Linked DNA regions of Homo sapiens: region 2 is linked to region 1. Evidence: promoter capture Hi-C in 16 types of primary human blood cells and fetal thymus (Javierre and others, 2016). All regions are on one chromosome and are shown on one strand. Each heading gives the region's core, a stretch centred on a gene start or on the middle of the fragment in contact. The rest is flanking DNA. Distances are from core to core; before and after follow the strand shown. Region 1 holds the start of H4C4 (H4 clustered histone 4). Region 2 has its middle 7.1 kb from the start of TRY-GTA6-1.

Region 1 (5,658 bases), core at 897-3,396:
GCCTTTCAAAGAGCTGGGAGTTACAGGCATAAGCCATGGCCTGGCATATGTCCTTTTTAAATTAATACATTAAATAATAATCTACCCATATGACTAAGACTTATTATAGTTTTGAAGGATTGAGGTTTTTTTTTGTTTTTTTGTTTTTTTTTTGAGATGGAGTCTTGCTGTTTTGCCCAGGCTGGAGTGCAGTGGCACGATCTCTGCTCACTGCAAGTTCCACCTCCCAGGTTCACGCCATTCTCCTGTCTCAACCTCCTGAGTAGCTGGGACTACAGGTGCCCGCCACCATGTCCGGCTAATTTTTTTGTATTTTTAGTAGAGATGGGGTTTCACTGTGTTAGCCAGGATTGTCTCCATCTCCTGACCTCGTGATCCTCCCGCCTTTGCCTCCCAAAGTGCTGGGATTACAGGCGTGAGCCACTGCACCCGGCTTTAGGATTGAGATTTTTAAATGAAATTTCGAGATATTGGCAATGAGAATGTGATATAAATAGAAGCACTTGTCCTGCCAATTACACTGTTTGTTGCCTGAGTTCATACACAGAAAAAATGCTGTTTCTGTTGGAGAATAGTAAAAAGAAAAAAAAAAGATTTGACTTTTTTTTTTTCTATACTCATTCCCAGATCCCCTGAAGACTTTCTATGTATCCCAGGCTAAGAACCTTACTCTGCAATCTTTTCCATGTACCATAAACTCAATAAACAGCAAACAGCTGTGATAAACTTGGTTCTTCTCACAAGTCATGAAGGAAAAGCCAAATATTCCACCCAAAGGACCTGGAACTTTTTATGGGGATTAATGATGAGTTAAGTTTTTAATTATTTATTATTTTGAGGAGTTCTCGAAATCAGATTTTAGCAAATTAGAATACTGTCTCTCATCCCTTTAGAAGGGTGAACCTTAAGGATAGGAATTGAAAACACCCACAATATTGTACTATACCATAATTAATGTTTAGTCATTGCTTATTTGGAATCTAGACACTATTCTAAGCATTTTGATAGGATTATCTGTTTCAACTTAACAAATACTTACAAGTTAGATTTTTAAAAATACATTTACAACAAGGAAACTTAGTATAGCTTGCCCAGGGTCACCCCCACAGCATGTATGTCAAGCAGGCTGTCTCTATGATAGTTTGGAGGGATACTATGATGCCAATTTGCTGGAGTAATAGAATATGGTGAATGATGCAGTGCTAGCTACAATCTGTCCATGATTAAAGGCACAATCAAAGCATAAATTTTCATAAATTTCAGCCCAACAAGGTTTTCTTTTACGGGTGTACATAGTCATGTTTTCAATCGGCCCTCGGTGATCTTATCCTAATTTGACCTCTAAATGTGTAACTTTCATATACTTTTAGTTCCCTCAGTAGCACTATCTAGCCTGCATGCCAAAGAGCCCTGCTTGGTTAACTAGGAATGCATAAATCAATAAAAATAATCTCAGAGACAATAAAGATATGAGTTACTTAAAATACTTTGAAAGCACCTTATGGCCCGGCGCGGTGGCTCACGCCTGTAATCCTAGCACTTTGGGAGGCCGAGGCAGGTGGATCACAAGGTCAGGAGTTCGAGACCATCCTGGCCTATGGTGAAACCCCGTCTCTACTAAAAAAATACCAAAATTAGCTGGGCATGGTGGCGGGCGCCTGTAACCCCAGCTACTCGGGAGGCTGAGGCAGGAGAATTGCTTGAATCCGGGAGGCAGAGGATGCAGTGAGCCTAGATCGTGCCACTGCATTCCAGCCTGGGCAACAGAGCAAGAACCCGTCTCAAAAAAAAAAAAAAAAAAAAAAAAAAAAAGCACCCTGTGAGGGAAACAGTACTAATTATTTGATATTCTGGGAAAAGTGGGGGACAATTGTCAGGCTTCTTTGTCGAAAGTTTATGAACTGATGGCTCAGTTAATGGCTGCAAGTATAGTGTGTGTGTATATATATATATATACCTAGCAGTATTTATTAAATCCCAGCTGAGGCTCTTTTGTTGCCTCAGGCCCCTCTTGGTCTCCTCCAGTCTGAGCAAGGGAGAATTGCACAGAAGGGCGGGAACTGACTGTGGTTCCCGCCCCTTCTCATGAGGTTTTCAAACAGGTCCGTCATGCTATTATAAAAGTGCTGCGTGGCTCTGCCAGACGTATTGCGTTACAGATTTAACAGCTGTGGTTTCAAGATGTCTGGCCGCGGTAAGGGCGGAAAGGGTCTAGGTAAGGGTGGCGCCAAGCGTCACCGTAAGGTATTGCGTGACAATATCCAAGGAATCACCAAGCCCGCTATCCGCCGCCTGGCTCGCCGCGGCGGCGTCAAGCGTATTTCTGGCCTCATTTATGAGGAAACTCGCGGAGTGCTGAAAGTTTTCCTGGAAAATGTAATCCGCGATGCTGTCACCTACACGGAACACGCCAAACGCAAGACAGTCACAGCCATGGACGTGGTGTACGCGCTCAAGCGCCAGGGACGCACTCTTTATGGCTTCGGCGGCTGAGCTTACCTCTACAGTACACTACCGCAAAACCAACGGCCCTTTTCAGGGCCACCTATCCACTCAGGAGAAAGAGTAGTAGTCACTGCTAAAAGTGTAGTTTCACGTGTTTAGTAGCTCCGGTTTTCAAGTTAAATGGTCTTATTACGCCTTGGCTTCATATCTTACTGGCCGGTGAGGATAGTGTATTAAAGTTTATTTTCACTCTTGCTGTGTCGCCCATGCTGGAGTAATCAATGGCGCGATCTCGGCAATCTGCAGTCTCCGCCTCCCGGGTTCAAACGATTCTTGTGCCTCAGCCTCTTGCGTAGCTGGGGCAACCGGCTTGCGCCACCAACACCCGGCTAATCTTTGTATTTTTTGCAGCGATGGGTTTTCGCCATGTTTCCCAGGCTGGTCTTGAACTCAAGCTCAAAAGAGATTTCCCTCCTCCGCCTCCGAAAGTGCTGGGATTACAGGCGTGAGCCACCACGCTTGGCCTGTGTTTTCTGTATTTCTGTAAGGAAACATGGCAAACTGCTGCTAACATTCTTCATGGCTATCAGAGAAACAAGGTAGCAAAGACTGTAGCTGCTGGAGAAACAAGGTAGCAAAACCTGTATCTCAGAAGGCAAGTGGTAAAGGCTGATGCTGCCGTGAAGAATAGTGAAAAAAATGGAGGTAGTTACTAGTTCCTACCAAGGCATTGTTATATGAAAGGAAGACAAAATGGCATTCAGATGGTTATTGGTGTGGGGGGATGGGAGGTGTGTTGGAGGCACTTGACTGGCAAATACATTCTTTAAAGAAGAAAGTAGTAATTACCGTGGGAGAAACAACCATGAAAGTACATAAGATTCAACATTTTTTAGTGGAATGGGGAGAGGCCAACTTGTTTGGTTCTGTTCCTCTGAGCTGCCTTCCATCCAGATCTACTGATTTTCTATTGTTGAATTTAAAAGGACTTTTTATTTATGTACCCGTGGCCAATTTAAAGGTATGTTGAACGAGTTCTTTTTTTGTTGTCCTTTTATCTTAAATAGTCTTAGACTTTATTATTAACAGAAGTCATTTTACCTTAAATCATAGATCAGGTTACTGTGGTTGCATGAATGGGTGTTTAAAACCGAGGTTGTCATGATTAAATTCCCACCTTCTTTCCCTTTACACCTCAGGAAATGAGACAAAAATAAGTAAGCCATTCCCTAGTGGGTTACTCCAGTCCTTACAATCGCAGGACTATCAGTATGCCACTGTATTATTCGCTGTCCTCAAAATGGATTTTAATTTGTGGAGAATATTGAGTAAACCCTTATTTTTCCAATAAAGTTTTTTCACTTTATCATAATAAAAAGAAAGCTGGACAGGTGGCTATCTAGCAAGAGACAACATTTCCTGGTCTTTCTGGGAGCAGATGTAAGCATGTGGCTACATTATTTCCAACACAGGTGAGACACATAGAAAAGTTACTACCAGGTCTGGGCTTTGAAACTTCCATGTTACCTTCTTCCCCAAGTATAATGGTATTGATTTCATTTTGAGCAATTAGAGAACATCAGGCCCTAGGAGATGACAGAACATTGACTTGGAAGGAACGAAATTTCCTGATTGATCACAAGGAGCAGAGCTGCTTCACAAAGCTGGACTAATCACAATGGATTTGTTCCATGAAACAAAAATATCTGTCTTTAAGCTTATTTATTGTTGAGTCTCTTTGTAAGCAGCATAACTTTATCACACAAAATTCAGTTTTGTTACTAAACTTATTTAGTATTGTGGAATGTCCTTCCATTGACCTGAAAGCTCTTTACAGAAAAGCTGATGCCAAATGAGCCTGTCGACTTGGTATCACCTCTGTTGGGTTCCATTATAGACAGAACAGAGTGGGGCTGATTACAAGTTAGAGATCAGGCAAGGCACGTGGCTCACGCCTGTAATCCCAGCTCTTTGGGAGGCCAAGGTGTGTGGATCACTTGAGGTCAGGAGTTTGAGACCCGCCTGGCCAACACGGAGAAACCTCGTCTCTAATAAAAATACAAAAATTAGCCGGGCATGCTGGCACATGCTTGTAGTCCTAGCAACTTTGGGGTCACAGAGTGAGACTCTATCTCAAAAAAAAAAAAAGTTATCAATGGGTAGACTAGATAGTCTATATGTCTTCAGCAGTGGTAACCTGTATATTTCAATGGGCTGACTTCCCTTCAAGAGTGGTTCTGCTGGGCACTGTGGCTCTCACCTGTAATCCTGGCACTTTGGGAGGGCAAGGCAGGGGGATCACCTGAGGTTGGGAGTTCGAGAACACCCTGACCAACATGGAGAAACCCTGTCTCTACTAAAAATAAAAAACTAGCTGGGCATAGTGGCACATCCCTGTAACCCCAGTTACTCAGGAGGCTGAGGCAGGAAAATCGCTTGAACCCAGGTGGCAGAGGTTGTGGTGAGCCAAGATCGTGCCATTGCACTCCAGCCTGGGCAACAAGAGCAAAACTCTGTATCAAAAAAAAAAAAAAAAAAAAAAAATAGAGTAGTTTGTAGTAATAGATGGATCAAAAACTCCTTTGAGAATCTGTTGAAAATAGACATATGAACATAGACATTTTATGAGGCTCATTATTCTCAGAAACTCAAGGAACTCCCAGGGCTCCATGGATTCCTGTCAACAACCAGAAGTCTAGGATTTCAGGGTCTGAGATCTAGAGATCCCAAATTTAAAGATAGAGAGGAATCGCAGACATAATACTAAATAATACATTGAACAGGAGTGAGTTACCATTTGCTGAGTGAAATAGACCTATATTCTTCTTCTTCTTCTTCTTTTTTTTTTTTTTTTTGAGATGGAATTTCCCTCTGTCACCCACGCTGGAGTGCAGTGGTGTGATCTTGGCTCACTGCAGTCTCCGCCTCCTGGGTTCAAGCAATTCTCCTATTCTTCTGCCTCAGCTTCCCAAGTAGCTGGGACTACAGGCCTGTGATACTATGCTCAGCTAATTTTTGTATTTTTAATAGAGACAGGGTTTTGCCATGTTGGACAACCTGGTCTTGAAATCTCGACCTCAGATGATCCGCCCTCCTTGGCCTCCGAAAGTGCTGGGATTACAGGCGTGAGCCACCATGCCCAGTCTATCATCTCTCTTCCTTCACTAGGATATGAGCCTCAGAAGGGCAGTCTCTTGTCTATCTTGCTCACTG
Region 2 (5,658 bases), core at 991-3,490, 400 kb before region 1:
TGACAGAGGTGCCAAGGTAATTCTACAGGAAAACGATAATCTTTGCAAAATGATGCTAAAAAACCTGAATATCCATGTGCTAATAAGTGAACTTAGACCCTTATATCACACAATGTACAAACATTAATTCAAAATTAATCAAAGACTTAAATGCAAGGACTAGAACAACAAAACCTCTAGAAGAAAACGTAGAAGGAACTCTTTGTGACTTTAGGTTAAGCAAAAAGATTTTAAATGGGACACAAAAGCATAAACCATAAAGGAAAAAATAAGTTGAATTTCATCAAAGTTTAACAAAAAATCTGCGCTTCAAAAGATACTGTTAAGAAAAGACAAGTCAGGCCAGGCATGGTAGCTCAAGCCTGTAATCCCAGCACTTTGGAAGGCTGAGGCCGGCAGATTGCTTGAGTCCAGGAGTTCAAGATCAGCCTGGGTAACACAGCGAAATCCCCTCTCTACCAAAAAAAAAAAAAAAAAAAAAGTCACAGTTTAGAAAAAGATACTTGGAAAACACTTCCCTGATGCAGGACTTATAACCAGAACAATAACATACTCTTGCAACTCAATAATAAGACCAGACAATACCCTTTTTTAAATGGACAAATGATTTGGACAGATATTTTACAAAAGAAGCTGTACTGATGGCCAATAAGCATAATAAGATATGTAACATCACTATTCATTAGGCAGATGCAAATTAAAGCCACAATGAGATACTTTACACACCTAAGAGAATAGCTGAAGTTAAAAAAAAAAAAGGTGAGAAATTAACAGTGCCGAGCGCCGATGATGATGTGAAATAACTGAAATTCTTATATATTGCTGGTGGGAATACAAACTGGTCCACCTTGAAAAACACTGTCAGTTTTTAAAAATGAAGTTATACATATATTTGCCATAACACTACATGAATATTTATAGTAGCTTTATGCATAACTGCCAAAAACTAGAAACATCCAAGTATCTATCAGCTGGTGAATGGATAAGTTGTAGTAAATCCACATAATGGAATACTGCTCAGCAATAAAAGGAATTAACTACTAATATATGCCACATTGATAATTTTTTTTTTTAAGACAGAATTTCGCTCTTATCACCCAGGCTGGAGTGTAGTGGCGCAATCTCGGCTCACTGCAACCTCTGCCTCCCGGGTTCAAGCGATTCTCCTGCCTCAGCCTCCCGAGTAGCTGGGATTACAGGTGCCCGCCACCACGCCCGGCTAATTTTTTGTATTTTTAGTAGAGAGGGGGTTTCGCCACGTTGGGCAGGCCGGCCTCCAACTCCTGACCTCGGGTGATCCGCCTGCCTCGGCCTCCAAAAAGGCCACCACATTGATAAATCTTAAAGCATTATGTTATATAAAGAAAGTCAATCATTGACTGGGCGGTGTGGCTCACGCCTGTAATCCCAATACTTCGGAAGGCTAAGGAGAGCGGATCACCTGAGATCGGGAATTCGATACCAGCCTGGCCAACATGGTGAAACACCGTCTTTATTAAAAATACAAAAATTAACCGGACGCGGTAGCGGGAGCCTGTAACCCTAGCTACTTGGGAGGCTGAGGCAGGAGGATCGCTTGAACCCGGGAGGCAGAGACTGCAGTGAGCCAAGATCGCGCCACTGCACTCTAGCCTGGGTGACAGAGCAAAACTCTTGTCTCAACAACAACAACAACAACAACAACAACAACAGGGAATTACAAAGGGATACATTCAATTTATTATTATTATTATTTAGACAGGGTCTCAACTCTGTCACCCAGGCTCTAAAGAGTGCAGTGGTGGGATCTCGGCTCATAGCAACCTCCGCCTCCCGGGTTCAAGTTATCCTCCAACCTCAGCCTCCCGAGTAGCTGAGGCTACAGGCACGTGCCACCACGCCCCGCTAATTTTTGTAGAGGCGGGTTTTCGCCTTGTTCCCCAGGCTGGTCTCCAACTCCTGACCTCAAGTGATCCACCCGCCCCGGCCTCCCCAAGTGCTGGGATTACAGGCATGAGCCACGGTGCCTGGTCCCAAATTATTTCATTTATACAGTTAGAGAAAAGACAAAAGTATAAAAACCAAAATCAGGCCGGGCGCGGTGGCTCACGCCTGTAATCGCAGCACTTTGGGAGGCCGAGGCGGGCAGATCACCTGAGGTCAGGAGTTCGAGACCTGCCTGACCAACATGGTGAAATCCCATCTCTACTAAAAATAAAAAATTAGCCGGGCGTGGTGGCACATACCTGTAATCCCAGCTACTCGGGAGGCTGAGGCTCGGAAGGCTGAGGCAGGAGAATCGCTTGAACCCAGGAGATGGAGGTTGCAGTGAGCCGAGATCGCGCCATTGCACTCCAGCCTGGGTTGTCAGGGGCTGAGAATGGATAGCAGCAATCGACTGTAAAAGGGCATGAGACAGTTTTGGGAAGCAAAGGATATGTATTTATCTTTGTATTTGTGTTGGTTACTTCCAGCATACATTTGCCTGAACTTGCTAAAATGTGCACTTTCTTCTCAACACTTACAGACTGCTGTCAATTTTTTTAAAAAAAATTTTAAATGCACACTTTGAAAGTTTTACTTGTACAAAACCCTGACTTATAAAGTAAACAAAATACTTTATAAGTTGTACTTTATAGGTTGGTGCAAAAGTAATTGCGGTTTTGCCAGTAAAAGATGGGAACAACCGCAATTACTTTTTGCCGTTTTCTACTGGCAAAACGGCAATTACTTTTGCATCAACTTACTGTATGACTAAGAAACCCTGTCTCTACTAAAAATACAAAAATTAGCCGGGCGTGGTGGCGCACGCCTGTAATTCCAGCTACTCGGTAGGCTGAGGCGGGAGAATCGCTTGAACCCGGGAAGCCGAGGTTGCAGTGAGCGGAGATGTTGCCACTGCACTCCAGCCTGGGAGACAGAGGGAAACTCTGTCTCAAAAATATAATAAATAAATAAATAAATAAATCACTCAGAACCAAATAAATGAGAGATATAACATATTTATGGATCAGAAGATTTGATACTGTGGAGCTGCCAAGTCCCTCCGGTTAATTTATGGATTCAACACAATCCCAATAAAAATCCCAGTGGGTTGTTTTTTTTTTTGTAAAAATGGTCCAGATTATTTTACAAAATTAACTTGGAACACAAATAACTCAGAATAACAACAGCCATCTTAAATAAGAATTACAAAGTTGGAGGACATACACTGTTAAGTTTTCAAGATTTATTTAAAAATTAAGTAATCAAGACAAAATGGTGTTGGTGTAAGGATAGGCCTGCAGATCAATGGGACAAACTAGAGAGCCAGGAAGCAGACTCACATACATATTGACAATTGATTTTTGAGAAAGCTGTCAAAATAATTCAATGGAAAAAGGATAGGCGTTCAGTAATTGGTACGGGTACAATTGGACATTCATGTATTTAAAAAAATCTATGGCCCCACATCAGCAACATATTTAATAATTAAAACTTTATCATAAAATTGTAAAACTTCTAGAAGAAAATTTGTATGACCTTTGGTTAGGCAAAAAATTCTTTAAAGGAACACACACACAAAAAAAGCTATAAAAATATAAATTAATAAATTAGACTTAATCAAATTTAAATGTTTGCTTTATAAAAGACACTGCTTAGGCCAGGCATGGTGGCTCACACCTGCAATCCCACCACTTTGCGAGGCAGATGTGGGAAGATCACCTGAGGTCAGGAGTTCGAGACCAACCTGGCCAATGTGGTGAAAGTCTGTCTCAACTAAAAATACAAAAACCGGCTGGCATTGTGGCAGGTACCTTCACTGGGCATTGGAGCAGGTGCCTGTAGTCCCAGGTTCTTGGGAGGCTGAGGCAGGAGAATCACTTGAACCCAGGAGGCAGAGGTTGCAGCGAGTGGAGATGTAGCCACTGCACTCCAGCCTGGGCAACAGAGCGAGACCCCGTCTCAAAACAAAAACAAAAACAAAAAATAAATCAAATAAAAAATAAAAACAAACAAAATCAAAGTATTCTCTAAGATTTAGGGGAACTAAAAGAACTGTTTGTTCTTTTACCCATAATAATTATGTTCTAACGTATTATACAACAATACGTTTGTTTTCACCATATTTTGTCTCCAATGCTTTTGTTCTGATGTTTTCATATTATGTACAATATTTTTTATTGCACTAAGTTTCAGATTTGGGAAACTTGCCTAGCTGCTTTTATGAAAATCAACATAGAAACTACTGCAATCCTTCATCAATGGAGGGACCACCATGGTTCAGAGATGCTAGACTTCCAACTGGCCCATGTTCTAATGGACCTTTGTGTTGTCTCCCATAGGGAAAAGCTAAATGTATTTGGCTTTTAGGAAGGAGAGCAGCCAGAATAATTGGTGGCCCTATGGTGCTCTGTGATGGTCATATGGTCATTCTGATCCACAGTCTTCTAGTAACGTAGCATGTGCAGATTGTAGTTCTTACTTCCTCAGAAATAGATGTGGACATATGACACATTTGTTCTGGAAAATGAGGTGTCCCTTCCAGATGTTTGAGAGTCAGTGAGCAATCTATCGGGTCCCTTTTTACCTTACCTTGACAAAATAATTGATTATTTTGATTGTAGAGGATCTACAAATCAGGGTTTATTAGTGAAATAGAGACCACCAACCAAATCATGATAGATTTTTATGACACAGAAATAGGAGTTTATGGTTATAAGCCAGTATGATTTGGCGTGGGGGAGAGGAATTACTTATTATTGCAGCATAAGCTAATGTATCCAGATGGATACATCCAGGAAATTCAGAAGTATGAATTCATTAAGAAGACCAGATTCCTTTCTAGGTAAATATCCAACAAAATTGTGTGAACTTGAGCACTAAGAGGTATGCTAAAAGTGTTCATAGAAAACAGGTTTTTAAATATACATATATATTTTAATATATTAATATCAACATATCCCAAGAAAAAGCTTAGTGAAGTATTGCCAGTGGTCTACGTACAGCCTAATATCACTTTATATTATGATAAGCTTAGGAAAATGTCTAAAGTTTCTTTGGTTCTTTGTGGTAGAATTCTAGAACATTTAAATGTATTGAGCTAAAAGTAGTAAAAATCTCAAAATTAGAATGAACACAGATCTAAGATTGGGATTTTAAAATACTATGGCAGTTTTTCAAGCCTGGAAAGTTCAGTCATTAGGATTACAGCAAAAATAATTATTAGACACAAGAGGCATTTCACCTGCTCTGTCTCTTGGCCCCATATGCAGCCATAGTGACTGTCCTTTTTCTCCTTTTCTCCCTTGCCACAGCACCCACAATTCAGATTGCTTTCCTTTTTCCCTCATAACTTCTACCAACCATTTGCTTCTTTGGGGACAGATCTTCCCTAAGACAAATAGAAAATTGTAGCATGAATCATAAAATCTTAGCCTCTTAAATCCTTGCTGCACCTGAAAATTACCATGCGAGATCATTTCTTAATGTTGAGTTTTATGCCTAATTATTATTAGTAAATAGACTGAGCATCACATTCAATGGAAAGTTACATGACTATCTTATATATGCATGCTGTATCTGGTCTAAAGTTTCTATTTTCATGGCTAAAATAGCTACAAGGAACCTGATCATTGTCTTATCTTCTACTTTTATTCCCAATGGCAGGTAGGGCTTCCTAATACTCCTAACTCCTTC

The links. Contacts are between HindIII fragments. The CHiCAGO score rates a contact against its expected background, and 5 or more counts as called.
Region 2: a contact is called between a fragment that was not itself captured here and the fragment with the promoter of H4C4 in region 1, in 7 of 17 cell types (neutrophils, total CD4 T cells, total B cells and 4 more). The highest score is 9.5, in neutrophils.

The regions. Positions count from the first base shown.
Region 1 is chr6:26,185,600-26,191,257 of GRCh38, reverse strand. H4C4 (H4 clustered histone 4) reads left to right here and starts at 2,146. Exons shown (of 1, transcript NM_003539.4): 1 at 2,146-2,548. The coding sequence starts at 2,182. The coding sequence ends at 2,493. RefSeq lists enhancers at 1,958-2,137, 2,920-3,545. The HindIII fragment of the contact is 9,357 bases long and covers 1-4,164 here.
Region 2 is chr6:26,584,950-26,590,607 of GRCh38, reverse strand. No RefSeq gene overlaps it. Among named protein-coding and RNA genes, the nearest start is that of TRY-GTA6-1, 7.1 kb to the left of the region's middle. The HindIII fragment of the contact is 5,392 bases long and covers 1-4,936 here.